Regions from separate parts of the Homo sapiens genome. Here regions 1, 3, 4 and 5 are each linked to region 2. Evidence: promoter capture Hi-C in human tissues and cell types (Jung and others, 2019). All regions are on one chromosome and are shown on one strand. The core of a region is centred on a gene start or on the middle of the fragment in contact, and the rest is flanking DNA. Distances in the headings are between cores, read along the strand shown.

Evidence for each region. The method cuts DNA at HindIII sites, captures the fragments that hold promoters and counts their contacts. A contact is called where the count stands out against the background at its distance.
Region 1: the fragment with the promoter of CBR3 here is called in contact with the fragment with the promoter of RCAN1 in region 2 in 1 of the 25 tissues and cell types used here (spleen).
Region 3: a contact is called between a fragment that was not itself captured here and the fragment with the promoter of RCAN1 in region 2, in 1 of the 25 tissues and cell types used here (lymphoblastoid cells).
Region 4: a contact is called between a fragment that was not itself captured here and the fragment with the promoter of RCAN1 in region 2, in 1 of the 25 tissues and cell types used here (lymphoblastoid cells).
Region 5: a contact is called between a fragment that was not itself captured here and the fragment with the promoter of RCAN1 in region 2, in 2 of the 25 tissues and cell types used here (dorsolateral prefrontal cortex and spleen).

What each region holds. Positions count from the first base shown.
Region 1 is chr21:36,131,026-36,136,328 of GRCh38, reverse strand. CBR3 (carbonyl reductase 3) reads right to left here and starts at 1,250. Exons shown (of 3, transcript NM_001236.4): 1 at 848-1,250. The coding sequence starts at 1,136. It overlaps CBR3-AS1 (CBR3 antisense RNA 1), which reads left to right. Exons shown (of 3, transcript NR_038893.1): 3 at 3,255-4,562. It also overlaps the pseudogene MEMO1P1 and the pseudogene RPS9P1. RefSeq lists enhancers at 276-445, 281-1,087, 1,088-1,895 and silencers at 596-765, 1,196-1,265. The HindIII fragment of the contact is 7,591 bases long and covers 1-4,043 here.
Region 2 is chr21:34,611,525-34,616,773 of GRCh38, reverse strand. It overlaps RCAN1 (regulator of calcineurin 1), which reads left to right and starts at 1,661. Exons shown (of 4, transcript NM_004414.7): 1 at 1,661-2,014. The coding sequence starts at 1,763. RefSeq lists silencers at 1,427-1,856, 2,047-2,146. The HindIII fragment of the contact is 10,572 bases long and covers 1-4,153 here.
Region 3 is chr21:36,034,288-36,039,611 of GRCh38, reverse strand. It overlaps SETD4 (SET domain containing 4), which reads left to right. Exons shown (of 12, transcript NM_017438.5): 10 at 1,339-1,462; 11 at 3,361-3,527; 12 at 3,652-5,071. The coding sequence ends at 3,495. Among named protein-coding and RNA genes, the nearest start is that of SETD4, 24 kb to the left of the region's middle. The HindIII fragment of the contact is 4,974 bases long and covers 1-3,916 here.
Region 4 is chr21:35,954,825-35,960,317 of GRCh38, reverse strand. It overlaps LOC101928269 (a long non-coding RNA gene), which reads left to right. Exons shown (of 6, transcript NR_110418.1): 6 at 5,493. Among named protein-coding and RNA genes, the nearest start is that of LINC01436, 48 kb to the left of the region's middle. The HindIII fragment of the contact is 8,113 bases long and covers 1-5,493 here.
Region 5 is chr21:35,928,297-35,933,180 of GRCh38, reverse strand. No RefSeq gene overlaps it. Among named protein-coding and RNA genes, the nearest start is that of LINC01436, 75 kb to the left of the region's middle. The HindIII fragment of the contact is 9,246 bases long and covers 1-4,884 here.

The DNA of each region.
Region 1 (5,303 bases), core at 1-2,500, 1.5 Mb before region 2:
AGTAACTTTTTTTTTTTTTTCATACGGAGTCTCGCTCTGTCTCCCAGTCTGGAGTGCAGTGGCGCGATCTCGGCTCACTGCCTCCCAGGTTCAAGCGTTTCTCCTGCCTCGGCCTCCCAAAGTGCTGGCATTACAGGCGTGAGCCACTGCGCCCTCCTGTAATTTTCTTCAGTAGTAGTTAGAATAAGCAATCTCTTGATCCCCGCCCCTCTCCTTAAGGAAGATGCTTTTAAGACCACACGCACGTATTTTATAACAAACATAAGCTCCCCGGGCGGGGGTGGGGGAACGAGAAGGCTCGCTTCCTTTTTGCCAGAGCCTATCAAAGCTCTGCATTACACAAATTGTCAAGTCCACCAAGGGCAAGCGCGCGCTAATCCTGTTTTAGCGATTCATTTCCTTTCCCGAGCAAATGCCTCCGGGCATCTATGAATGCGCCCTTTCAAGGAAAGCGAAAGCCCAAAGCGAGCGGAGACCGTTTCTTTGCAGAGAAAATGTTTCTCGCGTTGGAAGGAAAGCTGATGAACTCTAGCAGGGCGTTGCCCCCTCCCAGGAGGCCAGTTTTCCTGCACACAACAGCGGCTGACAGTTCGGGGAGGGCCCCGGGCCGCGCACAGGCCCTCACAGGCCGGCGGGCGGGGCGCGCTGTTTGTCGCCCGGGCCCGCCTGGGGCTCAGCGAATCACGGAAAGCGAAAACCGCCTCGCGGGAGGCGTGGGCTGAGCGCATCCCTAGGGGTCGGCGCCACCCTCCTCGGTCACTCAAGTGGACGGGTGGGGAGCCTGCGGCTGGCCACCTCCGCACCCTCGGAGCGCTCCAGGGGGCCCCAACCCAAGCCCTGCACCTACTCTTGAAGGCGACGGCCGCGTTGTTGACCAGTACGTTGAGCCCCCCGTACTCCTTGCGCAGGAAGTCGCGCAGGGCGCGGATGCTCTGCAAGTCGTCGATGTCCAGTTGGTGGAAGCGCGGGCTCAGGCCCTCCGCCTGCAGCTGCTGCACGGCCGCCTGGCCCCGCGCCACGTCCCGCGCGGTGAGCACCACATCCCCAGAGAACTGTCGGCACAGTTCGCGCGCGATGGCCAAGCCGATGCCCCTGTTGGCCCCGGTCACCAGCGCCACGCGGCTGCAGGACGACATGGCTGAGCGGGGAGCGCGGGGCACCTGCGTGGAGGGCGGACCGGGCTTCGGACCACCTGGGGCGCGCCCCGAGGAGCCCAGCTAGTGTCAATGCCGCCGCGCAGACTAAGTTCTGGGATCCAGTGCTGCGAGTCTTAAAGAAAAAGGCCCCGGCTCCGGTCCCTCCCCTCCGAGGAGGGGCCGTCTGTGCCCTCTGTTCCAACTCCCGGGCCCGCCCCCTGCCCACGCTGCGCCCTTCAGGATCCGGGCTCTGAGCCGCGGGGTGATCTGCGAGGTGTCCGAAGCCAAATCGGACCTTGATGGGTCAGTCGGGGGCTCCAGATTCTTGGCAACTGGACTGAAGAAATTATTTTGGGAAAACCCCAAAGTGAGAAAAACAAGTGCTGAGTAATTTTCTTGGGTGTGCGCCCATCATGCACTGCAAAATGCGAATGTTTGCTTTTTCCTAAGATGCAGTGACTTACTTAGACACAGTAACTGCTTCTCTGGACATAGGTTGCCTTGCTTGCTTAAAAGGAACTCAAGAGAGGGAACTAGATGCCCTGTGAGCGCACTTAGCAGGTGTGGGCAGGCGACATCGCTCTGGGATTCCCAGTGAATGTGCCCCCAAGTGGGAGGGAATGTTTTTATTTAATCCTACCTAACTCCTACGGGTGCTAAAAGTGTCTGCATTTAGGTTTGTCCAGGGAGGATATAGATCTATAAAGATCTGGATTGATCATATGTTCTCACAGATCTGTGTACCGGCAAAGAAAGTTAAACCAAATTCCCAAAGGTGTGTCAAGCTGTGGGCACAAAATTAGAGTCTCATCCATCGTCTTCAGTGTAAACTGAGTTGTTTGATCAGTGACTTTGAGATTTGGGGAGAACCATGACATCATCACGACTCAGCCTTTTCCATGCAGAGCTGGCTAACCCGCCTGTGTCTCTGTTACTCTGACTCTACCTTCTCTCTCAAGTCCTTACTTGAGGTTCCGGAGGTGGGCCCCTGCTGTGATCTCCTACTGTGCCTCCCCCAGTATTTCCTTCTTTTTTCTCCTAAAGATCATTTGGTCCGGGCGCGGTGGCTCACACCTGTAATCCCAGCACTTTGGGAGGCTGAGGCGGGTGGATTACGCGGTCAGGAGTTCAAGACCAGCCTGACCAACATGGTGAAACCCCCATCTCTACTAAAAATACAAAAATTACCTGGGTGTGGTGGCACGTGCCTGTAATCCCAGCTACTTAGGAGGCTGAGGCAGGAGAACTGCTTGAACCCGGGAGGCGGAGGTTGCAGTAAACCGAGATTGCACCACTGCACTCCAACCTGTGCAACAGAGTGAGACTTTTCAAAAAAAAAAAAAAAGATCATTTGGAACCTTGTTTTAAGGATATGGGGCTATTTAGGCTTTCTATTTCTGTTTTTTTTTTTTTTTTTTTTTTTTTTAATAGGGTCTTCTCTGTCGCCCAGGCTGGAGTGCAGTGCTGCAGTCGTGGCTCACTGTAGCGTCAGTCTCCTGAGCTCAGGTGATCCTCCCCTTTAGCCTCCCTAGTAGCTGGGACTACAAGTGTGCCACAGTCATGCCTGGATAATTTTTTTTTTTTTTTTTTTTTTGAGACGGAGTTTTGCTCTGTCACCCAGGCTGGAGTGCAGTGGCACGATCTTGGCTCACTGCAACCTCCGAATCCTGGGTTCCAACGATTCTCCTGCCTCAGGCTCCTGAGTAGCTGGGATTACAGGCGCTGCCACTACACCCAGCTAATTTTTGTATTTTTAGTAGATACAGGGTTTCACCATGTTGGCCAGGCTGGTCTCGAACTCCTGACCTCGTGATCCACCCGCCTTGGCCTCCCAAAGTGCTGGGATTACAGGCGTGAGCCACCACACCCGGCCTGCCTGGATAATTTTTTATTTTATTTTATTTTTATTTGTTTTTAGAGATGGGAGTCTCACTGTGTTGCTCAGACTGGTTGAACTCCTGGGCTACATCGATTCTCCCTCCTTGGCCTCTCAAAGTGCTGGTATTACAGGCTTGTGTCACCGTGCCTGGCCTAGTTCTTCTTGAGTGACCTTAATTTCTGTTTTTCATAATTTTATTTTTTTAAATAAAGCATTGATCCTGTTTTATCATTTGGCAGGAAAACTAGACAATCCACCAGCCCAGGAGGGGACAAGCAGGCTTATTCCTCCTCCTCGTCATCTCTGGCTCCAGCCCCACCCTGGCCCTTGCTGGCATTCTTCCTCTTCACGTGGCTGGGGTTGGCCACCCCAATAGGGAAGCAGAGGGAGAAGTCAATGTGCTTCTGGGAATCCAGGCGGACAGTGAAGAACAGGATATTTACCACCTGCTCACGGACACGGATATGACACTGTTGAATCAGCACATGAGCGTGGCGGATGGACTTAGCCAAGCCAAGCTTGAAGACCTGGGTCTGTAGGAATCTCTAAGAAATCATTGATCTTCAGGCCCAGGATGTAATCCAGCTTCATCTTGCCCTCATCCAGCACCCCAGTGCGGACCAGCCACTGCAGCAGGGCAATGCCTTCGAACAGACGCCGTGGGTCCTTCTCATCAAGCGTCAGCAGCTCCCGGGCGGCCTTATGGATCTTGACCAGGGTAAATTTGACCCTCCAGACCTCACATTTGTTCTGGAGCCCATACTCACCAATCAGCTTTAGCTTTTGGTCGAGATGAGGTTTCTCGAAGGGTCTCTGCAGGGTCACATAAGTTTGGCAACAAACCCAGCTCTGGGCCGCTGGCATGTTGGCTCCACTTGCCCGTCTATGCCTAAGCACAGGCCCTGGTCACTGAGAAAGAGCTCAAATTTTTTATATATTTCATCTAAGGTGTTGATTCTATTGATACCCTTATCCTTTTAACATGCCCTTATCCTTTTAATGTTGGTAATGATGCTACCTGTCATTTCTGAGACTGGTTTGTGTCTTTCGTGTTTTTTTCTGATCTGTCTGGCTAGAGGTTTACCAATTGATTTGATTTTCCTCAAACTTCTGGTTACAATGATTCTCTCTCTCTCTCTTTTCCTGATTATATTAATTTCTGTTCTGATCTTTGTTTCCTTTCTTCTGCTTACTGGATTTTATTTGCTCTTTTTCTGGTTTCTTACTGTAAAGGCAGAAGTCATTGATTTGCATTGATTTGAGACTTCTTTTCTAATGTAGGCAGTAAGTGGTGTAAATTCCCTTTTAGTATGACTTTAGTGGCATCTCACATTGATATGTTTTCAATTTCATTCAGTTTATTTTTATTTATTTTTTAAATTATTTATTTATTTATTTATTTTGAGTTGTGTAGCCCTTTATTAGCAACTAAAATAGAAGGTATCTGTTGTACAACATGGGTAGTAATTGACTATAACTGGAGATTTATTATATTCTAATACAGATCATTTATAAATGCAATTTCTTTATTAAAAAGCTTCCACCTTTTTGTTTGTTTGTGTACAATTTGCAAAACTATTCTGAAAGCGGAATATATGTGCACAAGTCTGCAAAGAGTGCAAATTTAGGATATGGTAAATGCTTTACAAGTTACTTTCAAAAAACTGTCTGCCATAACTGAGCCTTTACATTGTCATCTTTTTTGATCAAAATATTTTGATGCCAGCCTTCCTTCCACTGCCCTAAACTATAAAGCATTTTTTAATGAGTTGAAATTAAGGAAGGACTACACCTACTAGAAAAAAAGAGAAGAAAGTTCTATTAGTTTGAGGTTTCAGAATCCCCCCAAACCAGGACCAGTATCGTGGTAAAGGCTAGGCTGGGAGCCCGGACAGAGTATGAGAATGTGCAGGTGGCATCCCTGAGGATTCAGAGCTTCAGTGGACCGTGAGTGCTCCAGCTGCATAACTCACTGAACTGTCTTGCCAGTTTCTACACTGGCTCGACTGGGCATAATTCAAAAACGAAAAACTCATATTCATTCCATTCTTCTGGAGCTCTGTGATAGCATTTAATAACACCCCAATGGGATGTCTTCCACATATAGTATTATGGTATTTCTTCAAGTAATTGCTAAAAGATACAGGGTCTAATTGTTCTATAATACTCATACCCATTTTATCTAGATGTTCAATGGATCTACAAATCTCCCCCTGGGATTCATCATAGTAACTGTGACGGAACCTTTGACCCCAATGGCAGAAATCAGAAGAAACCACAAAGAGATT
Region 2 (5,249 bases), core at 412-2,911:
AGGGCATGCCCATGACAGGCCTCAGGAAGTCCTGAGGACATGTACCCAAGGTGATCAAGGCACAGCTTGGTTTTATACATGTTAGGGAGACATGAGACATCAATGAATGTATGTAAGCAGTACATTGGTTTGGTCTGGAGAGGCAGGACAACTTGAAGCAAAGGCAGGAAGACTACTGCAAAGGCAGGAGGCAGGAGGGAGCTTCCAGGTCACAGATAGGTGATAGACAAACGGTTACACTCTTTGGGTTTCTGATTAGTCTTTATAAAGGAGGCAAATCTGTCTCGGTGAAATGCATCTGTCTCAGTGAGCAGAGGGGTGACTTTGAATGGAATGGGAGGCTGGTTGGCTCTAAGCAACTTCCAGCTTTAGTTTTCCTTAGTGATTTTGGGGGCCCAAGATTTCCCTTTCACAGTATGACGGTTCCAATTTCTTCACATCCTCATATCATATTCTATTTTATGAGTTATCTCTAGATGGGTATTATTATTCCTCTTGGGTTTAGCTCCCTGAGGACACAAACTGTCCTAAGACTATGATAATAGTAATCATAGAACCGTGCACATGGCAAGTTCTGAATAAATCTCAGCTGTTGGATATACTTTTTGTTATAATTACTAACACTTCCTAACTAGAGAGTAAGCCTACTCTAAGAAAAAATATAACTGTAATTTCACAACCTCCAAAGAACCCAGTGCATAAACAGCTACCATTTATTAAGCACTGACTGAATTCTTAGTAATATGTCTTCATTTTTTTCAGATGAGGAAACTAAGATTCAGCTTATTTGTACAAGTAGTTAAAAAGCAAAGCTGAAATTCAGACCCAAGTTCTCACTGTATCATACTGTCCAAAAAAGAATTCTATTTTTCAGGAAGAGACATGTCTGCTCACTTGAGGTCCTCTTATTTTTCCGCTATTCCCCAAAGGAAAGGGGTGATCTCTTAATTCTTTCGTTATGTCCTATTGTACATAGCATATAATGGTAATTCAGAAAAATTACTTCTAATTACATAAATTTTCACAATGGTATAGTGACTAATACGCTGAAATAGAAAAGTAAGGCATTGTTATCATGGTCTAGTTCAGTCTTTATTGCGACTATATCTGATAATATACGGTAAGCATCTAACCACTTGCCAGGGGCCACAGAGCCACAGGGAGACTATGTCTCGCTTAAATTCCCAAAAGTGGGCCCCTGTGCTTCAAAACGTCCCCGCATGGGAACCACAAAAACGTTGCCTCCCCAGTTATCACCCCAAGGGCCCAAGAGCCGAGGACTCTGCCCGGCGTCCTTCAGCTGGCACCAGCTGTCAGAAAAGCGGAACTGGGGACGAGGACTTTGCCCCTAACCAACATGGCCGCCCTGAGGCTTCGGGCTTCGGGCGGCAGAAGGAAGGTCACGTGAAGAGAATTCCGTTCCTTTATTGGCCCCGTCTCCTGGAAGGGCGGGGTACAATAACCCAACCGGCGCCGGCCTTAAAGGGGCCACCGTTGGATCTGCCGGTGGCCGGCCCTAGGGGCTGGGGGGGCGGTCGCCGCGCCGGGCTTCTGCCCCTCCCGCGCGGAACGGTGACGGGCGGGGCTGGCGCTGGGAGGCCGTGTCGCTGGGAGACTGCTGACAGCCCGCCGCCTGCCGCCGCGCGATTCCGAGGGGGTTAACGGCGGAGCCGCCGGCCGGGCGCGGACCGGAGCGCGTGAGGCTCCGGCGCGCAAGCCCGGAGCAGCCCGCTGGGGCGCACAGGGTCGCGCGGGCGCGGGGATGGAGGACGGCGTGGCCGGTCCCCAGCTCGGGGCCGCGGCGGAGGCGGCGGAGGCGGCCGAGGCGCGAGCGCGGCCCGGGGTGACGCTGCGGCCCTTCGCGCCCCTCTCGGGGGCGGCCGAGGCGGACGAGGGCGGCGGCGACTGGAGCTTCATTGACTGCGAGATGGAGGAGGTGGACCTGCAGGACCTGCCCAGCGCCACCATCGCCTGTCACCTGGACCCGCGCGTGTTCGTGGACGGCCTGTGCCGGGTGAGGACCGCGCCGGGCGGGCCGTCGGGGCGGAGGGCGGACACTTGTTGCCCGAGGAGGCGGCGCGGGTCGCAGCGCCCAGTCCCGGCCGCGCGCGGGGCGGGGAGGCAGCGACGTCCCCCGGGCTGCTCGGCCGCGGACCCGTCAGGGCTGGGGCGTGGGGACGGCGCCCCGAGGGTCCCGGTCCCCTAGCACCCCCGGGGCGCGCGGAGCTCACTGCAGAGTCCCACAGGCTCGCCCCGGCCCCCGTGTGCGCCCAGGCTGGTGCGACTAGGGGGGTGAATTCGCTCCCCAAGGTGGGGCAGCGCCGCCGCCCCCTGCGCTCTCGCCATCGCCCCGCATTTACTCGCTGGAGGAGGGGGTCACCTCATTCCTAGGGAGGAGGAAACAGACATTGAGCGGCGACGTGACTCAGTGTTCATAAATAGGACGACGTCCCTGCATTCCCAATCTGCACTATTGGAAGAAAAGCCAATGTTTGGGTGAGGATCCGTGGTTGCTCATTAGCCAGCGGCTGGCCAGTTTTGGTGGAATTGTGTTGGGGGGAAGGGGACCATCTTTCAGACCTTTAGGATATTTAGTCAAGAACCTTGCCCCCTTGTGTGAAGGTGTGGCTTGCCGCCATCGGGGACACCCAGTACATGGGGAGTCGACTCCTTCCCCCGCCTCCCCCCACCCCCGCAAAATCCACACAATTTAGACACTTTGGAGGGTGAGGGGCAGGTATGAGTAATCAATAATGGTGGTGGGGAGGAAGAATTTATTTCAAATCTGCAGTTATTGTGCAGAATAAAATGTGGACAACGTGGGCGTCACAGAATGAAACCGGTCTTTGAGAGATGCCCCATTAGGAGAGCAGCTGTCAAAAAAAGCAGTGCTTTCAGCGCTTGGCTGTGGGTCCACAAATGCTGTCAATGAACTATAGTTGAAGGCTGCTGCCAATACAACACCACTGTGAAACAGAATGGTGTATGTAAGTGTCATTTATTTATAATTTATATGTTCACTTACTTTCTGAAAGGAATTACAATGGCCGTGTGCTTAGGTAAGCTTCCAGGCATGCTTTCTAGAGCAGCAATTGTCAGGAACTCAGGGTCTTACTGATTGATCTTACTCTAAAACCTTTTCCTCTCCATATAAACTAAGCGCTAGCCAGCATTTCAGACCTTTTCCTTAGGAGTTCTAGGCTGTCTTTCTGCTAGAACAAGGTCAAGTCACGTAAGACGGCACTTACTTGTAGTGTTGGAGACAATTTTTTCCAGTGTTGGATACAATCCTGAAATTGTGTTGTATGAAAGTTTGCCCACTTCGCTAGCTATTCATTTTAACAAATATTTATTGAGACTTCGCTACGGGATAGGTACTGTCCTAGGCTCTGAGGCTGCATCAGTAAATAAAATAGCATTTCTGCCTCCAGGGTTGACATTTTTTGGAAGGGAAACAAGCAATAAAGAAATATCAAATGTATCAGAAAGTAATGATGCTATAGGAAAAAATAAGACTTGGAGGGCAGGAGGAGGGAGTGGAGATCTGGGAGTGGAGGGGAGATTGCTATTTTCCATAAGATGATCAGGGAAGGTCTTACTGATATGGTGATATTTTGAGCAGAGACAATGTAGCATTGGTTCATTCAGGCTTTGCTGTCTATTGAGTGCTTACTGTGTTCCAGCCACTGGTTTAGGCCCAGAGGATAAAGCAGGGAACATTTCAAGCTCCTTGCTTTCATGGAGCTTAGGATCCAGTGGTTGAGGGGGAGATAGACAATAGGAAAAAGGCAAGTGAACAAGATCATTTCGGATAGTGATAAATGCGATGAAGAGACTGAAACAGGGATAGAGAGCAAGGGGAGGGGGCTTGGTCAGAGTGGTCAGGTCCTAACACTGTGGGGGTTTTGTTGAAGAGCTGGTGAATTGGGGCAGTCCTGAGGGAACTAACAAGGGATGTCCAGGCCTGCAGCCATGAGCAACAGCTGGAAGCTGGAGCTGGGGGAGGAAGTCACGTGGCTGGAAACCTAGGGGAGGAGCTGCCTGCCAGGAGCTGTAGACTTGAAGGTGTGGAGTTGAGATGCTAAGGCAGGGTACAGGCAGGGAAGAAATTCTCAGGCTTCTGATTTCATTGGCAGAACTCAAAGGACAGCTAGGAGGCAAGGGAGCCCCTGCAGTGGAGTCCATAGGTTGGGTCATCCTTTCAGGGCCCACAGAAGGGTAGATAATGGCTCTGGGGACAGTGTGGATAAAGGGGACTTACACAGAGGAGTTAGTAGGGAGCCACTTTAGATGGAGTGGCCCAGGGAGGCCTCTGCACAGCCTGGACCAGGTTGACAGGAAGAAGCTCCCTGGGGAGGTGTTTGTGTGGCCGGCATCCCGGCAGAGGGACTAGCAGGTGCAGAAGCTCCAGTGCAGGGTGAACTCCATTTTTAAAGGACTTGAAGGGTTGCATGAGAGACAGAGAGGCGATTGGTAGCTGAGGTTGGATAAGCAACCAGAAAACATCCCCCTGGGGCCATGGTAAGGATTCAGGTGTGATTCTAATTGCACATCTTGGTGGAGAATGGCTTTCAGGAGGGAAACTGGGTAGGCTAGAGAGGAAGCAAGGAGACCTGGTAGGAGGCTGTTGCCATCATCCAGGGGAGATAGGAAGGGAGTGGGACTAGGATGGTGGTATTGGAGATGGAGAAAGGGGCAGAGCCTCCATCTGAGCCTCTTCTCTCCATTTGGAGAATCTGGAGCTTCAGAATGGGGATGAGGGAGGGTTGTGCACTGATGTCCAATTCTAGGGTCCTGTGAGATATACAGCAATCAGTGAAAACCCAAAAACCAGGTGGGCTAAGGGAGTCCCAGTCTCTGAGGGCAAATAGCTCTATGCAGTGGGCAACCTGAGAGCTAAAGTCACAGCGGGTCCTTGGTAAGCCTTGCAGCAAGTGGACCATTTCTCATTTAGCTGAAACCATCCTTCTAGGTGGGAATATGTAGTTTCTGCGGTTTCAATGTGGCAGTCTTACTGTTAAGACTGGGGTGTCACCTTTGGATGATGTAATGTAAATGTAAATCTACTTTAGGTTGGTGGTATCTCCCCTTGTGTAAACAGATCATTAACTGCAATGCTGACAAAAGTCCCTGGGGGTCTGGCCGTCCCCTCCTTAGCCAGTCTGTTGGATCTGGAGAGTGATGGTGTGAGGAAAAAAGACTGGATCAAACTTCTTTATATATAGTCACATGATTCTGTAAGCTTAGTC
Region 3 (5,324 bases), core at 180-2,679, 1.4 Mb before region 2:
ACATGCGGTTTCGCACTGGCCCATTCCTGCAGTGTCTTGTCTTTTCTCCTTTTGTCTTCCTTTGTCTTGTTTTCTGCCTTCATTCATCTTACCTTTTATTTTGTGTGTACTTATGTTAGCTTCTTTAAATCCTTCTGGCAACAAGGTATGAGTCCTTTTCGGACACTTCAGCCTAAAATTAAATACAACAACTGGCTGTTTCCCAGAGGTCTTCCTTAGGCCTCTTTTCTTGCATTTGAGTTACCGCTTACTGAGTGGGTGTGGAGAAAGCACGTGTGGGGCTCTGGCTGGGGCGTTTCAGTTCTTTCTGCCTCACTAGCTCTGTCACTCAGGGTGAGTGCTTCAACTTTGCTGAGTGTTTCTTTGAGTCTAGCATGCGGATTATCGTGCTTTCTTTGCTAGGTAACTGTGAAGATTAAATTAGGTAATGGTTATTCATGAACACCATGCCTGACACACAGTCATTTCCTTTTTCTTTACTGAGAACTCATTTCACCTGTCATCTCTGAAACTGAAGCCTTCTGAGACTATTCCGGGCTGTGTCTTGCCAGCTGTTCTGAATCTAATGGGCTCCTGTTTACTTCCACAGCAGCCATCTTTCCTCCCCTTCGAAGCCACTTCCACTTCCAGATTCTCGGTGTTCAGAATCCGGTCCTCCGTCGTCTTTCTCCCGGTAGTTCTTCTTTCTAGTGTCTAGGTCTGGCGCTGCCACCTCTGCTCCGCATCCTGCTGTGGCTCCCTTGCACCTGCCACAGCAGACCTTCCAGAGTGGGCCCTGCCTGCTGACTGAGCCCCGTTTCCTGCGAACCTTTGTAGTAGAGCACTGGAATGACCTGCATGGGGATAGAGGCTTGCTGTAGATTCCTCCTTCCAGACATGGAGCATTTGGCTTTGTGAATTGTGCCCAGTTTGCTACTATTTTGGACAGACGGTCACTTGAAGGAAAACTTCTGCCTTTGCTCCTTAGTCCTCTGCCTTTCGGCTGTGGACTCGCCCTCCTGTTCTGTCACTGGCTTCGTTCCCATGGCCGGGAACGGGACTTCATTCACTCATGGGTCAGACACAGGTTTGTGATGATAATAACATTCAGCCCTTGCCTGCAGAGAGTACCCACCCCCCGTGCTTTTATTCTCAGCTCCTCCTCCTCCTCTCTCATTACCTGGTCGGCTTCCACATGGGAGCTGCAAGTGGCATGGAGGTTTGGGGAATCTGCTTATGGAATGAGTTGTATTATGCTCCTGGAGAAATAGGAGAAGGAGTTTATGTGTTGCACTGAAACAAAAAAATCTGTTTTTTGAGAGCCTGCTAAAATTGTGTCATGGAACATTTTGGTTCTAGTACATGCTGGAAAAAAGTACTTCTTGGGGAGGTAATTTCAGATACGAATGAGAAGACAAGTTTGGACATAGCCCAGAAAATATGCTATTATTTCATAGAAGAGACTAATGCTGTGCTTCAAAAGGTATGTTTCTAGAATATGACATCCTTAAAGAAGTGTCTTGATTCAGCAGTTCCTTGTTTTGTACATGTTATTAGGGATAGTGCATTTCATAAGAGCATTGTTTAGTGCCTTAAATAAATAAATGTTGATGTAATCTCTATTTTTGTTTTCTTTGAGATGGAGTTTCACTCTTGTTGCCCAGGCTGGAGTGCAATGGCACGATCTTGGCTCACTGCAACCTCCACCTCCCAGGTTCAAGCGATCCTCCTGCCTCAGCCTCCCGGGTAGCTGGGATTACAGGCACCCGCCACCATGCCCAGCTAATGTTTGTATTTTTAGTAAAGACGGGGTTTCACCATGTTGGCCAGGGTGGTCTTGAACTCCTGACCTCAAGTGATCCACCCGCCTCAGCCTCCCAAAGTGCTGGGATTACAAGTGTCCACTGCGCCTGGCCTGAACCACCGCATCTGGGCTCCATTTTTGACTGTTAACATAGTACCTATGCTTTTTCTCTCAATTTTTTATTTTTATTTTTTCTTTTTCTTTTCTATTTTTTTTTTTTTTTTGAGACAGAGTCTTGCTCTGTCTCCCAGGCTGGAGTGCAATGGCACGATCTCGGCTTACTGCAACCTCCGCCTCCTGGGTTCAAGTGATTCTCCTGCCTCAGCCTCCCGAGTAGCTGGGATTACAAGTGCCCGCCACCACATCTGGCTAATTTTTGTATTTTTAGTAGAGACAGGGTTTCACCATGTTGGGCAGGCTAGTCTCAAACTCCTGACCTCAGGTGATCCGCCCACCTCAGCCTCCCAAAGTGCTGGGATTACAGGCATGAGCCACTGCACCTGGCCTCTTTATTTTTAATTGGTCAGTAAAAATTGTATATATTTATAGTGGACTACATGATGTTTTAAAATAGGTATACATCGTGGATGGCTAAATCAAGCTATTTAACATATGCATGATCACATATACTTATTTTTTTTGTGGTGAGAACACTTAAAATCTGCACTTAGCAATTTTCAAGTACATAATATATTGTTATTAACTGTAGTCACCACGATGTACCATAGATCTCTTGAACTTAATCCTCTGGTCCAGCTGAAATTTGGTGTCTTTTGATCAACATCTCCCTAATCCCTCTCCAACCCCTCAGCCTCTGGTGACCACAATTTGACTCCCTGCTTCTATGAGTTTGATGATTTTAGAGTCCATGTATAGTGAGATCATGCAATATTGGTCATTCTGTGCTGGCTTATTGCCGTGTGACAGCATGTCCTCCAGGTTCATCCACGTTGTCACAAATGACAAAATTTCCTTTTTTATAAGGCTGAATGTACTTCACTGGGTATATATGCCACTTTTTCTTTATTCATCTGTTGATGAATACTTAGGTTGATTCCATATCTTTGCCTTTACTTTTTATTAAAAGGCAAAAAGTAAAAGTTACTGTGTGACTTCAAGCATTCTTTCTCATTGATGTGTTTATTTAGTAAATGTTTTAGTTAAATGAGAAATCAGCTTATTCGTATGAAAACATGCCTGGGATTTAAAGAGTGATTTTAATGAAGCTTGAAGACATTATTGGAAATGAAATAAGCCAGACACAAAAGGACAAATGCTGTATGATCCACTTCTGTGAGGTTCCTGGAACAGGTGAGTTCGTAGAGACAGAGAGTGGAGTAGAGGTGACGGGGGGTTTGGGGAAGAGGGGAATAGGGTTATTGATGTATGCTTGTAGAGTTTCTGTTTGGGTGATAGAAAAAGTTCTGGAGCTGGAGAGTGGCAGTGGATCTAAACAATGTGAATGTACTTCATGCTGCTGAACCATACACTTAAAATTGGTTAAAAAGGTACGTACGTTCTGTGAAATATATATATATGTTTTACTACAATAACAATAATTAAAAAATAACTTTCAGGTGTCTCATATGAAGGATGAAAAAGAGGCCCTGATAAACCAACTAACTTTGGTGGAATCCTTGTGGACGGAAGAGCTAAAGATTCTCAGGGCATCTGCCGAGACCCTGCACAGTTTGCAAACAGCTTTTACCTGATTTCACCGAAGCGCATTTGGTCACCTCCTCTGGTGGGTGTTAGTCACACATTTTAGACTAAGGTTTGATGGACTAAATTTATATAGTTTAGAGTCGATGAGTTGTGTCTACTCAACAATTAGGAACTTAATCCTTTTCCTTTTGCTTTTCCTACAGAAACAAAAGTTAATTTTGAAGAGCATCATCATGGGCTGGGGTGGTGGCTGCCCCCAGGACATGCAGGATTTCTGCAGGGGGCAGCACAGGTTCTGGGATTGTGAGGCTGTGAGTGAAGGTGGACAAGCTGTCTGGATGGCAGGTCTAATGCTCTTCCGAATAAAGTGCTGAACTGTGAGGAGAGAGGCGGACTGTGAGGCAGCCAGGAGCCAGCTGCGTCCGTGTGTGGTCTGTCACCACGGGGCCTGCTTCTTATCTGACACAGCAGCTATCAGAGTCTAGTGGTTGTGCTTTTAAGATGCTCTGATACCATTGGGTTAAGGGGCAGATTGGCGGTGGGTGTGGGGCAGTGTGAGGTAGTCCTGGATCCCCGCCAGGGTGGCCCAGACGCCAGCCCTTCCCTGTGTGGCTGCACTGAGGTGGGTGTTGAAGAGCCCCCTAGGGGACACACAGCTTCCAGGAGGAGGGAATGTCCTCTAAGCATGCTCCTGGCCTCTCAAGGTGGCGCTTGTCTAATTATTCACTTGGGAAGAATGACTAGCTCAGCCAGCGGCTCTTTCTGCTTTGTTCTGGCGACTTTCCTGGGCAGGCCTTTCCACCTGGGGAGCTGGCTCATCCTGCACAGCTGGGCCGTGGTGGGCCTGTCTGCTTGATTCTGGGGTTCAGTGTAGGTCAGCTGATGGCGAACCATGGTGGTGGTTTGGCTTCTGTTCTTATTCTTGAGTTTTGATACCACGCAGACCTTGGGTGGGGAGAGCTTCCTGCACAGCTCTCAGCGGCCTGTGGCCTTGGAACTGCCTGCGTAAGTAACGGAGGGGCTGCTGGTCCTGTTCAGGCCCGTGCTGGGGACGCCGCTTAGACAATGTTGCCCAGAGTCCTGTTTACCCTCCCAGGGTTCATTCTTCCCAAGAACTCAAATTCCTTTCTCATTGGAGCCTAGTGAAACCAAATGAACGGGACCTGCTGGCCTCAGGAGGCAGGCAGAGTTTAAAATAAAACTTTCTCATGATTTCTTGAACATCTTTCCCTGTTTGTATATACACTTTGTGTTTATTTTTCAGTAGCTGCAGTATATTTTTTTTCAATATTCAGTATAATGCAGTGTATTTCATCATATGCTGTATGGAGAGTGGGCAGACTTCTGTGGAGGGCCCGATAGTAACCATTTGAAGCTTTCTGGACCTGTGGTCTTAGTCCCAGCGATTCTGCAGAGCGGCCATCGGCAGCATGTCAACCATTTGCATGGCTGGGCTCCAGGGAAACTACTGACAACGACAGGTGGTGGGCCATAGTTTCCTGACCCCTGTGCTATGCCAGAATTTCTTTTTCCTCTTCCCTATGAGTGGACCTAAATATGTTAATTCCTTTTCACCTTTCAAAACGGACAGCCCCTTGAACATTAAAAACTTCGCAGACCCTACATGGTCATTGTGCTTTCCTTGTCCAGTGATTAGAAAAACTGCGCAGTGGGTGGGCGTGGTGCTCACACCTGTGATCACTTCAGGGGAGGCTGAGGTGGAGGATCTCTTGAGCCCAGGAGTTCTGAACAGCTTGGGTGATGTAATGCGTCCCCCCGCCCCACAATCCCGTTCCTACAAAACAATTTAAAAAATGAGCTGGGCAGGGTGGTCCGTGCCTGTAGCTGCAGCCACTCGGAAGGGTGAGGCCAGAGG
Region 4 (5,493 bases), core at 2,088-4,587, 1.3 Mb before region 2:
AATATGCTAAAAATGTCAGCCATGCTATAAAAAGTGTAATATATATATATGTATATGTATATATATATATATAGAGAGAGAGAGAGAGAGAGAGAGACTGAGTTATTCTGGGATGGGGTAGGCAGGGCATGTTAGGAAAGGTTTTCCTGAGGAACTGGCTTCTGCGCTTCAGGAAATGCAGGAAGTAATAGGCAAAGAGAGGGAGGAAAGGTGGAGGGGACAGTATTTGCAAAGGCTCTGAGGCAAGATGGAGCACAATATTTGATGAACCCAAAGAAAGCCCGTGTGGTTGCTGCGTAGGGACTGAGGAGATGGGGCGGATATGTTAGAGAGGGAGGGGTTACAAACATGCAGGATCTTGTCAAGCATGAGGGATTTTGTGATGAAAACTGGATTGGAACCCACTAGAGAGGTTTAGACTACAGTGGAACAATATGATCCCATTAATTAATTAATTTATTTATTTATTTGAGAGGCGTCTCACTGTTGCTCAGGGTGGAGTGCGGTGGCATGATCTTGGCTCACCGTAACCTCCACCTCCTGGGTTCAAGCGATTCTCCTGCCTCAGCCTCCCGAGTAGCTGGGATTACAGGCACATGCCACCACGCATGGCTAATTTTTTATATTTTTAGTAGAGACGGGGTTTCACCATATTGGGCAGGCTGGTCTTGAACTCCTGATCTCAGGTGATCCACCCACCTCGGCCTCCCAAAGTGCTGGGATTACATTTATGTTTTAAGAAGACCACTGAGGACTCTTTAGAGAATGATGGGCGTGTGGAGCAAGAGTTGACTCAAGGAGACCAGCTGGATGGTCCATCGTTAAAGAGTAGGCAAAATGTGACCTTTACTTGGACCAGGGTGGACATTAGGGTTAAGAGAAGTGGATGGATTCAAGAGAAAATGAAACCAAGAAGACTGGGTGATGTGGTTGTATAGGAGTGAAGGAGAGAAGTTGTCAAACATGGATAGGTTTCTGATGAGTACAATGGAAGAAATGGGGTTTCCATTTCCTGAAAACAACAACAACAACAAACCCACACATTAGGGCAGGGTGTTTTCTGGGGAACACGTTGAGTATGAGGGTTCTTGGGCTTTCTGGCAGTTGCCTGTTTTCTTCTGGTTCCTCTGAAGGCTTAGCTGTTAGTCTTCCTTCATGTTTTATAATTCCTTTGTTTTTAAAGGGCTGCCCTTCTATTGCTACTCTCTTCACTGCTTCCGTATTTACAGGGATCTTTTCCTTTATTTTCTCTCGGCCTTCCACAGAATGATTTTGGTAACTTGAGACTACCTTGGGGAATGCAGCCATTATATTTTCAGTCTCTCTGTGTGGCAACACTACCACCGATATTTTCACAGGTTCTCGGTTTGCTAGTGCTGTTTTTGTTTTTTCCTTCTCAACCTTGAAAATACAACACTAACACAATTTTTTGCATCCATGGAAGAATCAGTGGCATCATTGGAAGTTTCCTAAGGGGAACACTTTTCTGTATGAAAAGGAAAGGATGGGAAATTGCTTTATGATTCAAAAGCTGGCATAAACATTTGTTATTATTTTTTTAATCGTGGTTTATTCCTGCATAAGTTATCCAACCATGGAGCCACATTCAGTCAAGGGCATTGTGACCTCTGTGGGGAAACAGAACAACCTGAACACCTGATGCAAACTTTCTGGCCTGAAGGCAGCTCCAGTGACTGATTTCCAACAGATCTGTAAGGACAGCTTGTTTAGAAGTTGTGTCTGCTCCTAGCACAGGTCCTGCAAGGTCTGTTTTTCAAGGAATGAATTCTTTCCATGTTTCTGAATGGAATGGATAGCTACACTTTCATTTGGTCGGTAGTGAGGTATAGGCATGGAGAGATGACAGTTGGTGAGAGAATGAAGCATGAGAGTTTAACAAGGGCCTAGGCAGGCTCAGATTGCTAGCCTTCAGGTGTATTCTATTGGGCACTATGGAGGATATGAGAATGGCCTCAGATCTATGACTGCAGTTGGCATCGTTGACCAACAGCCCCAGCTGCTGTGCTTTGAAATCCATCACTGATCGGCCCGAGACCTTGCTTTTCATGACTGAGCAAGGTGGGATACCCAGACAGGCCTGTTTCTGGGAGAGGTGATGCCTCTGACTGTGGCTTGATGCCTCCCAACTGGCCTTGTAGAACTTCCTGGAGAAATGCACTGTAGTTGAGGAAGCATCTAATTCACCTTGCTTCCTTCCCTCTCTCCTTCATGCAGGTCAGACCTACACGATGGTCTAACATCTCTAGTAGCCTGCTCCTCATGTTGTCTCTGTTATGGACTGAATGTCTTTGCCCCCCAGATTCATATGTTGAAACTCTAATCTCAATGTGATGGCCTTTGGGAGGTGATTAGGTCATGAGGGTGGAGCCTCATGAATGGTATTAGTTCCCTTTAAAGACACTCAGAGAGTTCTTTTGTCCTGTCTTGCCATATGAAGATGTAACAAGAAGTCAGCTGCCTGCAACCCAGAAGAGAGCCCTCCCCAGAACCTAACACTGCTGCTGGCATCCTGATGTCCAACTTTCAGCCTCTGGCACTGTGAGAAATCATGTTCAGCTGTTAATAAGCCACCTAGTCTATGATATTTTGTTATAGCAGCCTGAATAAGAGACTCATAGGCGCTTCTCTTAATAAATTACTTGTACATTGAATCCTGCCCTGGTTTATGCTTTTCAGAAGATCCTGACTTGATTAAAAATTCAGAAGATTCCTTGATTAAAAAAAGTGGGCAGGCATGGTGGCTGACACCTGTAATTCCAGCACTTTGGGAAGCTGAGGCGAGTGGATCACTTGAGGTCAGGAGTTTGAGACCAGCCTGGCCAAAATGGTGAAACCACGTCTCTACTAAAAATACAAAAATTAGCTGGGTGTGGTGGTGCATGCCTGTAATCCCAGCTACTTGGGAGCCTGAGGCAGGAGAATTGCTTGAACCTAGGAGGTGGAGGTTGCAGTGAACTGAGATTGCGTCACTGTGCTCCAGCTTGGGTGACAAAGGAAGATTCTGCCTCAAAAAAAAAAAAAAAAAAAATTTAGAAGGTACACATGCAGTCCCACTGTCTTACCCCTTCTGTCTTGTATTCAGCCTGGTTCACATGTTTATGTTACATGTCTGACTTCTGTAGGTGTTTGATTTTATTTCCTAGGTCTTGTATTATCTTTTATAGAATAGTAGAGACAGAGAAATAGGGAAGGATTGACAAATTGGGAAAATATGACTCTGTTGGTGTATTAGGGTTCTCTAGAGGGGCAGAACTAATAGAAGATACGTATATATATGTATATGTGTGTATATATATAAATATATGTATATGTGTATATATATGTATATGTGTGTGTGTGTGTGTGTGTGTATATATATATATATATATATATATATATATATATATATATATATATATATGGTCTGAGTCCTAAAACTGAAGAACTTGGAGTCTGATGTCTGAGGGCAGGGAGCATCCAGCACGGGAGAAAGACGTAGGCTGGGAGGCTAGGCCAGTCTTTCCTTTTCACGTTTTTCTGCCTGCTTTTTGTTTGTTGGCAGCTGATTAGATTGTGTCCTCCAGGTTAAGGGTGAATCTGCCTTCCCCACCCTACTGACTCAAATGTTAATCTCTTTCGGCAACACCCTCACAGACACACCCAGGATCAATACTTTGTATCCTTCAATCCAATCAAGTTGACACTCAGTATTAACCATCACAAGTTATATGAAGTTAAACTTTTTGATCTTTTGAAATTTATCAAATTTGGATATCATTATCATTCAACATACGAATGATCCATCTAACTTTTACATTTTAGCAATTCATTTAAATTTTTTCTATTTTAATTTAACCTGTGAGTCTATGGAGTTTTCTCAAAATTAGAAAGTTATAGAATTAATGATGCATTTTGCCTTTTGTTAATACACATAATTGTTGAATAGCCAAGTTCTCTTCAGTATTTGTAAAGCCTTGGGTTTTATGTCCACGAATCCTGACTCTGCCCTTGGGAAGAGGTGGATTAAACAATTCCCTTTTGGTACATGGTGCACATGTAGTAGAAATTGTCATATGACTTCAGTAAATAACTTTCTGAAGTTTCCAAACAACAAAAATAGCTTCCCAACAACAAAAGTAGTTTCCCAGCTACTCTTATTAGCTGGGAAAATTTATTAAATTAGCTTATTAAAATTTCCAGTAATTATTTTTATAAAAGAATTTTCTGTATTATTTCTTTCCTTCAAAGCAACTAATCAGCTCAATTATTCTCCTTGATTTGGGATTTATTAGAATCTAAGCTTTGTTGTTGCTGTTGTTAGCCAGAAAGAGATGGCCACACCTCTATCAAGTTGGGAGAACAGAACCATTAGACAGAGTGGATTTTCTCCACCTTAGAAAGTTTTCCCTCCACAAAGAACATGAATGCATCCAGGACCAACTACGTAATTTTTAGGGCTCAGTACAAAAAGAAAATGTGGATCTGCTTGTTGAAAAAGCAGAGAAAAAAATGCTGCTAAAGGTACTAAAATATAAAGTTTTTCTTTTGGTTTTATGAATCTCTTCTGCTCATATGCATGCTCCACTGTCCCAAGTTCAAAGGTAAAATTGGAAAGAATTTCCAGACGGCCACAGCAGAGCATGAAACCAAGCTTGGGACTCTTCTGAGTATGGGACCCTGGGTGTGACTACAGCAGTTCCCATGGAGCTGGCCCTGGATACAACTCACCAGCAAGCCACGAGCAAGCTAGAAGCCAGAGGGAACATTACCCCTCTTCCCTCTGGAGTTTCAGGTGGAGGTGTGGGCAGGGATCATGGTAGCTGCCTGAGTCTGGGCTCCCAGGTGACATGGAAGGCACGGTGCTTTGTATCTGATGTTGGAGAACAGGAGCAGTTTTTCTCTCTCTTCTTTGTTCTCGACTCACCTGGGCAGTGGCTTCACCACACTGTCTATCTTTGTGGAGAGAAGGGGAATGACTTGCTCATGATGGGCAGCGGTATTTTGACTTTCCATTGTAAATACTTGATGTATACGTCTCATTATATTTATTGAGTGCTGGCTCTATGTTGGCTTCTGTTCTAGGTGTTGCTGGGATCTTCCTGTCCTCATGGAGCTTACATTCTCATGGTGGGGAGGCGTGGAATAATCAAAAGGGAGGAGTAGACCCAATGTAAAGAATGTCAAGCATGGGAGTGCTATGGAGGAAAGCAGGGTGGAGAAGGGATGCAGATGTCGGGGCTGCTGGTTTATAGTTGTCAGTAGGGTGGTGAGGGAAGGTCTCACCAAAAGGTGACACTTGATGATGAACTGAAGAAGATAAAGGAGAGAACCATGCTGACCTCTGGGAAAGAGTGTCCGGGACAGTGACAGTCAATGCAAAGATTCTGTGGTGGGAGCAGAGAACTTTGTTCTTCATTGACCTTGCATGAGTTTTTGGTGTGATTTTAGCACATGAAGATCTATGTGAAAACATTCTTTCCCTCTTTTTTAAGG
Region 5 (4,884 bases), core at 3-2,502, 1.3 Mb before region 2:
TAAATGTTCTCCAATTCTGAGCTCTTTTTTTTTTTTTTTTTTGAGGTGGAGTCTCACCCTGTCACCCAGGCTGGAGTGCAGTGGCATGATCTTGGCTCACTGCAATCTCCACCTCCCAGGTTCAAGCGATTCTCCTGCTTCAGCCTCCCCAGTAGCTGGGATTACAGGCATGTGCCACCATGTCCAGCTAATTTTTTTTTTTTTTAAGTAGAGATGGGGTTTTGCCATGTTGGCCAGGCTGGTCTCGAACTCCTGACCTTAGGTGATCCGCCTGCCTTGGCCTCTCAAAGCGCTGGGATTACAGGTGTGAACTACCACACCCGGCTGCGTTAATTAAACTTCCTTTACTGCCCTGAGCTATTCTTATGACATTTCTTTGAGACAGGACAAGTGACTCAGTCTCTTTGTAATTTATTGAGTTCTTTGATTAAAAGAGACCATTACCAGCTAAAAATTCTACCCTCTGCCCTCGCTTTCACATCCTTCGAATGGATAAAGGGAAGATCTGTACAACACAGCCAGATATCAATACTGCTGCATCGTGTGCCTGGCTTCCTGGTGGTAGCCACCTGCTGCTTAGAAACTGTTTCAAAGGGGAACTGGCGTACTTCCCTTTTAAGCAAGAGTTACAGCGCAAAAGCTGCCTCAGTCATAATTTCTAACGTAGTCATCTCCTCTTTATAAGTGCACTTCCTCAGAGACCTGTGGACATAAACTGAATGTGTTAGGCAGAGACCTTTCAAAATTTAGACTTGTTTTCTGGACAGATGCCAGATTTCCTGGATGGCTGGTTACAATCCCCTTGTCCACCCGCGCAGTGCAGCTAAGATTGTCTGTCTGAATCATCATCCTTTTTTAGTGTGTACTTAAAGTGGAAGTGATGTTTTCCAGACCCTGTGTAGGAATGAGCTCATGTCATGAGGTTTTGCTCTGATGTTGGTTTCTCTCAGTTAGTTTAGTGACATTAGGATCTGAAGGCCGACGAATGGCTTTGATACCATTTTAAGGTGTCTTCCATTTCCAGTACTCCAGGATTATTGGGAAATTACTGGGGAGATGAAGACATTATGTAAGGTGGCAGGTCAACCTACTAGTTATTCACAGCCATTGGAAGATACTATGGGACTGTTAATAGTATGTGCTGAAAAGACTTCTCTCTTGTTGCTTTAAAAAAATGTAGTTTATTTACATGTATATTGACTTCTTTATGGTCCTATCCTAAGTGGATAAATGGCTGAATTCTATTTTTCTGCTAAGATTTTAGGCAGGAGAGTATTTTTCATGAATGTCTTGTAAATCATTAGTAAATGTTCTCTGACAAAGGGTTCCATGGCTAGATAGGTTTGAGAAATGCTGGGGAAGAATATGATGATGTCACCCGTAGGACATTTACATTGCTCTTCCTGATGCTGATATACAAATATATGTCTGTTTAAATTGATTTAATGATCTAATAAAAACTAAATTTCTCCTCTGAGAAATTGATGAAAACAACCAACCGTGAATATCCTAGCAAACTGTTTTCATGTCTGTTTTCAGATAAGCATTCCCTGAAGAATTTTATTTATTCATTTGTTTATTTGTTCATTGAACACATATCTATTTTGTGCCTTCTCTGTGCCAATACTTAGGGAAACGCTGCACCTTAATGAAAAGAAGGCTGTGGCAGACATGGCTGGTCTCAGCCATCCCTTTCCTTTAGTAAAGTTGAGTCCAATGCAGCCCAGAACAAAGGTTATGTTTCCCAGCTTCCCTTGCAGCAAGAACTGCCACATGGCCCGTGGGATGTGACCTTGAGGGCTATGTGCAGAGTTGCTGTGGGGCCTCTATGCACAGGCTTAGGTATGCACAGGTATGCACGTGCTATGTGTTTTGGATGGCAGAACAGCAGGACAGGAAGAGCGGGAACTCTGATACTATGGAGTGTTATAACACTTTGAATATTTATGATTAGACCATATTTAAAATAAATAAACTATTATCAATTTAAGTTACTGTTACTTTGACCTTTTTTAATGATAGCCAAACTAATAACCTAACTGATCCAGAAAGGATTTTCAATGATCAGGCATTGTCATAAGATTCAGTAGGCACATTTAGGAGCTTTTTTTTTTTGAGATGGAGTTTCACTCTTGTTGCCCAGGCTGGAGTGCAATGGCGTGATCTTGGCTCACTGCAACCTCTGCCTCCCGAGTTCAAGCGATTCTCCTGCCTCAGCCTTCCCGAGTAGCTGGGATTACAGGCATGGCCCACCACGCCTGGCTAATTTTGTATTTTTAGTAGAGACAGGGTTTCTCCATTGTTGGTCAGGCTGGTCTCGAACTCCCGACCTCAGGTGATCCACCCACCTCAGCCTCCCAAAGTGTTGGGATTACAGGCTTGAGCCACTGTGCCTGGCCACATTTAGGAGCTTTTAAAAGTCAAGCAGTACATAATGACCATCTCAGTTTAGATAAAAGGCCTGAATATAGAAGGGTAACTTTTGTGAGCTTCTGAAAGTTCTCATTCCTACATTTTGAGAGAGGAAATGAAAGACCTAAGGAACTGAAATTCCTTTCAGTGATGGTGGAGAGAGGCCCATGTTCTTTTCACTGCTTTAGCCAACATATGTAGAGAAATAAGGCCAGGTTTTCATATGATGTCTGAATTTGCCCAGTTAGTCCAGGGGGGACAGGCGCTCAACATAGATTCAAGGGTTTTAAAATAATCAACATTTATTTTTCAAATTCCTTCTATATATCTTTGTAAAACAAATTCTGGCATAGCAAACTTCCTTCTTACCAACAGGCTACCTCTATCCACATAGTGGGCATATGTAAACACACGAGTATATATATTTAGATGTGGGTTCGGCATAAAATAGCTTTTTCTTCCTAAGTAAGGAAAAGAAAACCTCAACGCATTACTAAATGTGACATTTTGGATCCAAGTAGACAAAAAGAACCACGTGAAAATGTGCTAAGCTTCCACATAGTTAGCAACATGTCACTTTGTGAGAGAATTTTCATAATTAATGAGCCAGGTCAATTTGCTCTGCATTTGACTTTGATGAATATGTCGTGGAGTATTCCCACTGGGACTCTTTCCAGTTGGTTTGGGAAGCTCTTATGTCTATATCCTGTGTGTGTGCATGGATCAAAGTGCTGGCATCTAATGCTGCCATGTTAGGTTAGGGAACAGCCGTGCGAACCCAGTAACAATGCCTGAGATCCCACACTGGCCCAATACATGACCCAGATGGACGGACCCCAAGCCAACAAACATAAAATTGAAACCAAAGCTATTTGGAAAGGGGATTGGACCACTCATCTGGCTGTTTTATAGAGTCTTAGAGAATTTATGTAATTAAATTTTCCTTCCTAATTCTGGCATTAATTTGTTTATTTATGTATTTTTTAAGACACAGCCTCATTCTGTTGCCCAGGCTTGAGTGCAGTGGTGCAATCATGGCTCACTGCAACCTCTACCTCTCAGGCTTAAGGGATCCTCCCACCTCAGCCTCCTGGGTAGCTGGGACTACAGGCGTACACCACCATGCCCATCTGCCATGAATTTAGAGACTGAATGAAATGACCTTAGCATTACCATATCATCTTTTTAATTTATTTTTTATTTTTTGAGACAGAGTCTCACTCAGTAGTGTGGTCTTGGCTCACTGTGATCTCCACCTCCCGGGTTCAAGCGATTCTCCTGCCTCAGCCTCCCGAGTAGCTGGGATTACAGGTGTGCACCACCACACCTAGCTAATTTCTTTTTTTTGTATTTGTAGTAGAGACGGGGTTTCACCATGTTGGCCAGGCTGGTCTTGATCTCCTGACCTCGTGATCCATCTGCCTCAGCCTACCAAAATGCTGGGACTATGGGCATGTGCCACCATGCCCATCTGCCATGAATTTGGAGACTGAATGAAATGACCTTATTGTTACCGTATCATCTTTAACCATCTGATTAACATTTGCTTCATAGCAAATACAGTGTGTGGGGATAAATTATTTGCATGATAAGTTATCAGTCAGTGTCCAATCAGTGCATTATTCTGTCTAGAAACCGCTGTAAATATTTCAGAGAAGGAATTTCATACAAATTGGTGGTGCATGATTTGAGAGGAACGAAGGAGTAAATACAGGGAGTCAAGCTTACTTACAGATTGGTAACTGCAGGAAGTCACTATCCCCCTAGGCTTGAAAGCCAAAGAGAACATGATGCTTGCTGATCCACCAAGATTGTTGCTATTAACACTGAGCTGACCCAGCAGAATCCCAGAAGCCACCCTTGCCAGCCTTTGCTGCTGCCACCACCATCTCTAGAGGCACTACCAGAAGATGGAAAAAATAGCATCTCCCTTGCTTCCACCTCCAGTTTGCTACTAGTGCCTCCCATTGTAGAAGCTAACAAGAGGCTGATTGGCAAGAGGGATTTGGAAAATGTAGTTTCCAGGCTTTCTGCTCCTGGGTCACAGGGGAGGAGAAAGGAGAGAGAGTGGAGCTGAGAATAAGAGACTTCAAGCAGCACACAAGTGTTTCCAAGGATATATTCTATATACATTTAAAGTAGGTGTACATTATCTGATTACATTAATGAATGAATCTTTTTTTTTTTTTTTTTTTCCTGAGATGGAGTCTTGCTATGTTGCCAGGCTGGAGTGCAGTGGCACAAATCTCAGTTCACTGCAACCTCTGCCTCCTGGATTCAAGGGATTCCCCTGCCTCAGCTTCCTGAGTGGCTGGGACTACAGGTGCATGCTACCATGCCCAGCGAATTTTTGTATTTTTAGTAGAGACAGGGTTTCACAATGTTGGCCAGGATGGTCTCTATCTCTTGACCTCGTGATCCACCCGCCTCGGCCTCCCATAGTGCTGGGATTACAGGTGTGAACCACCACAC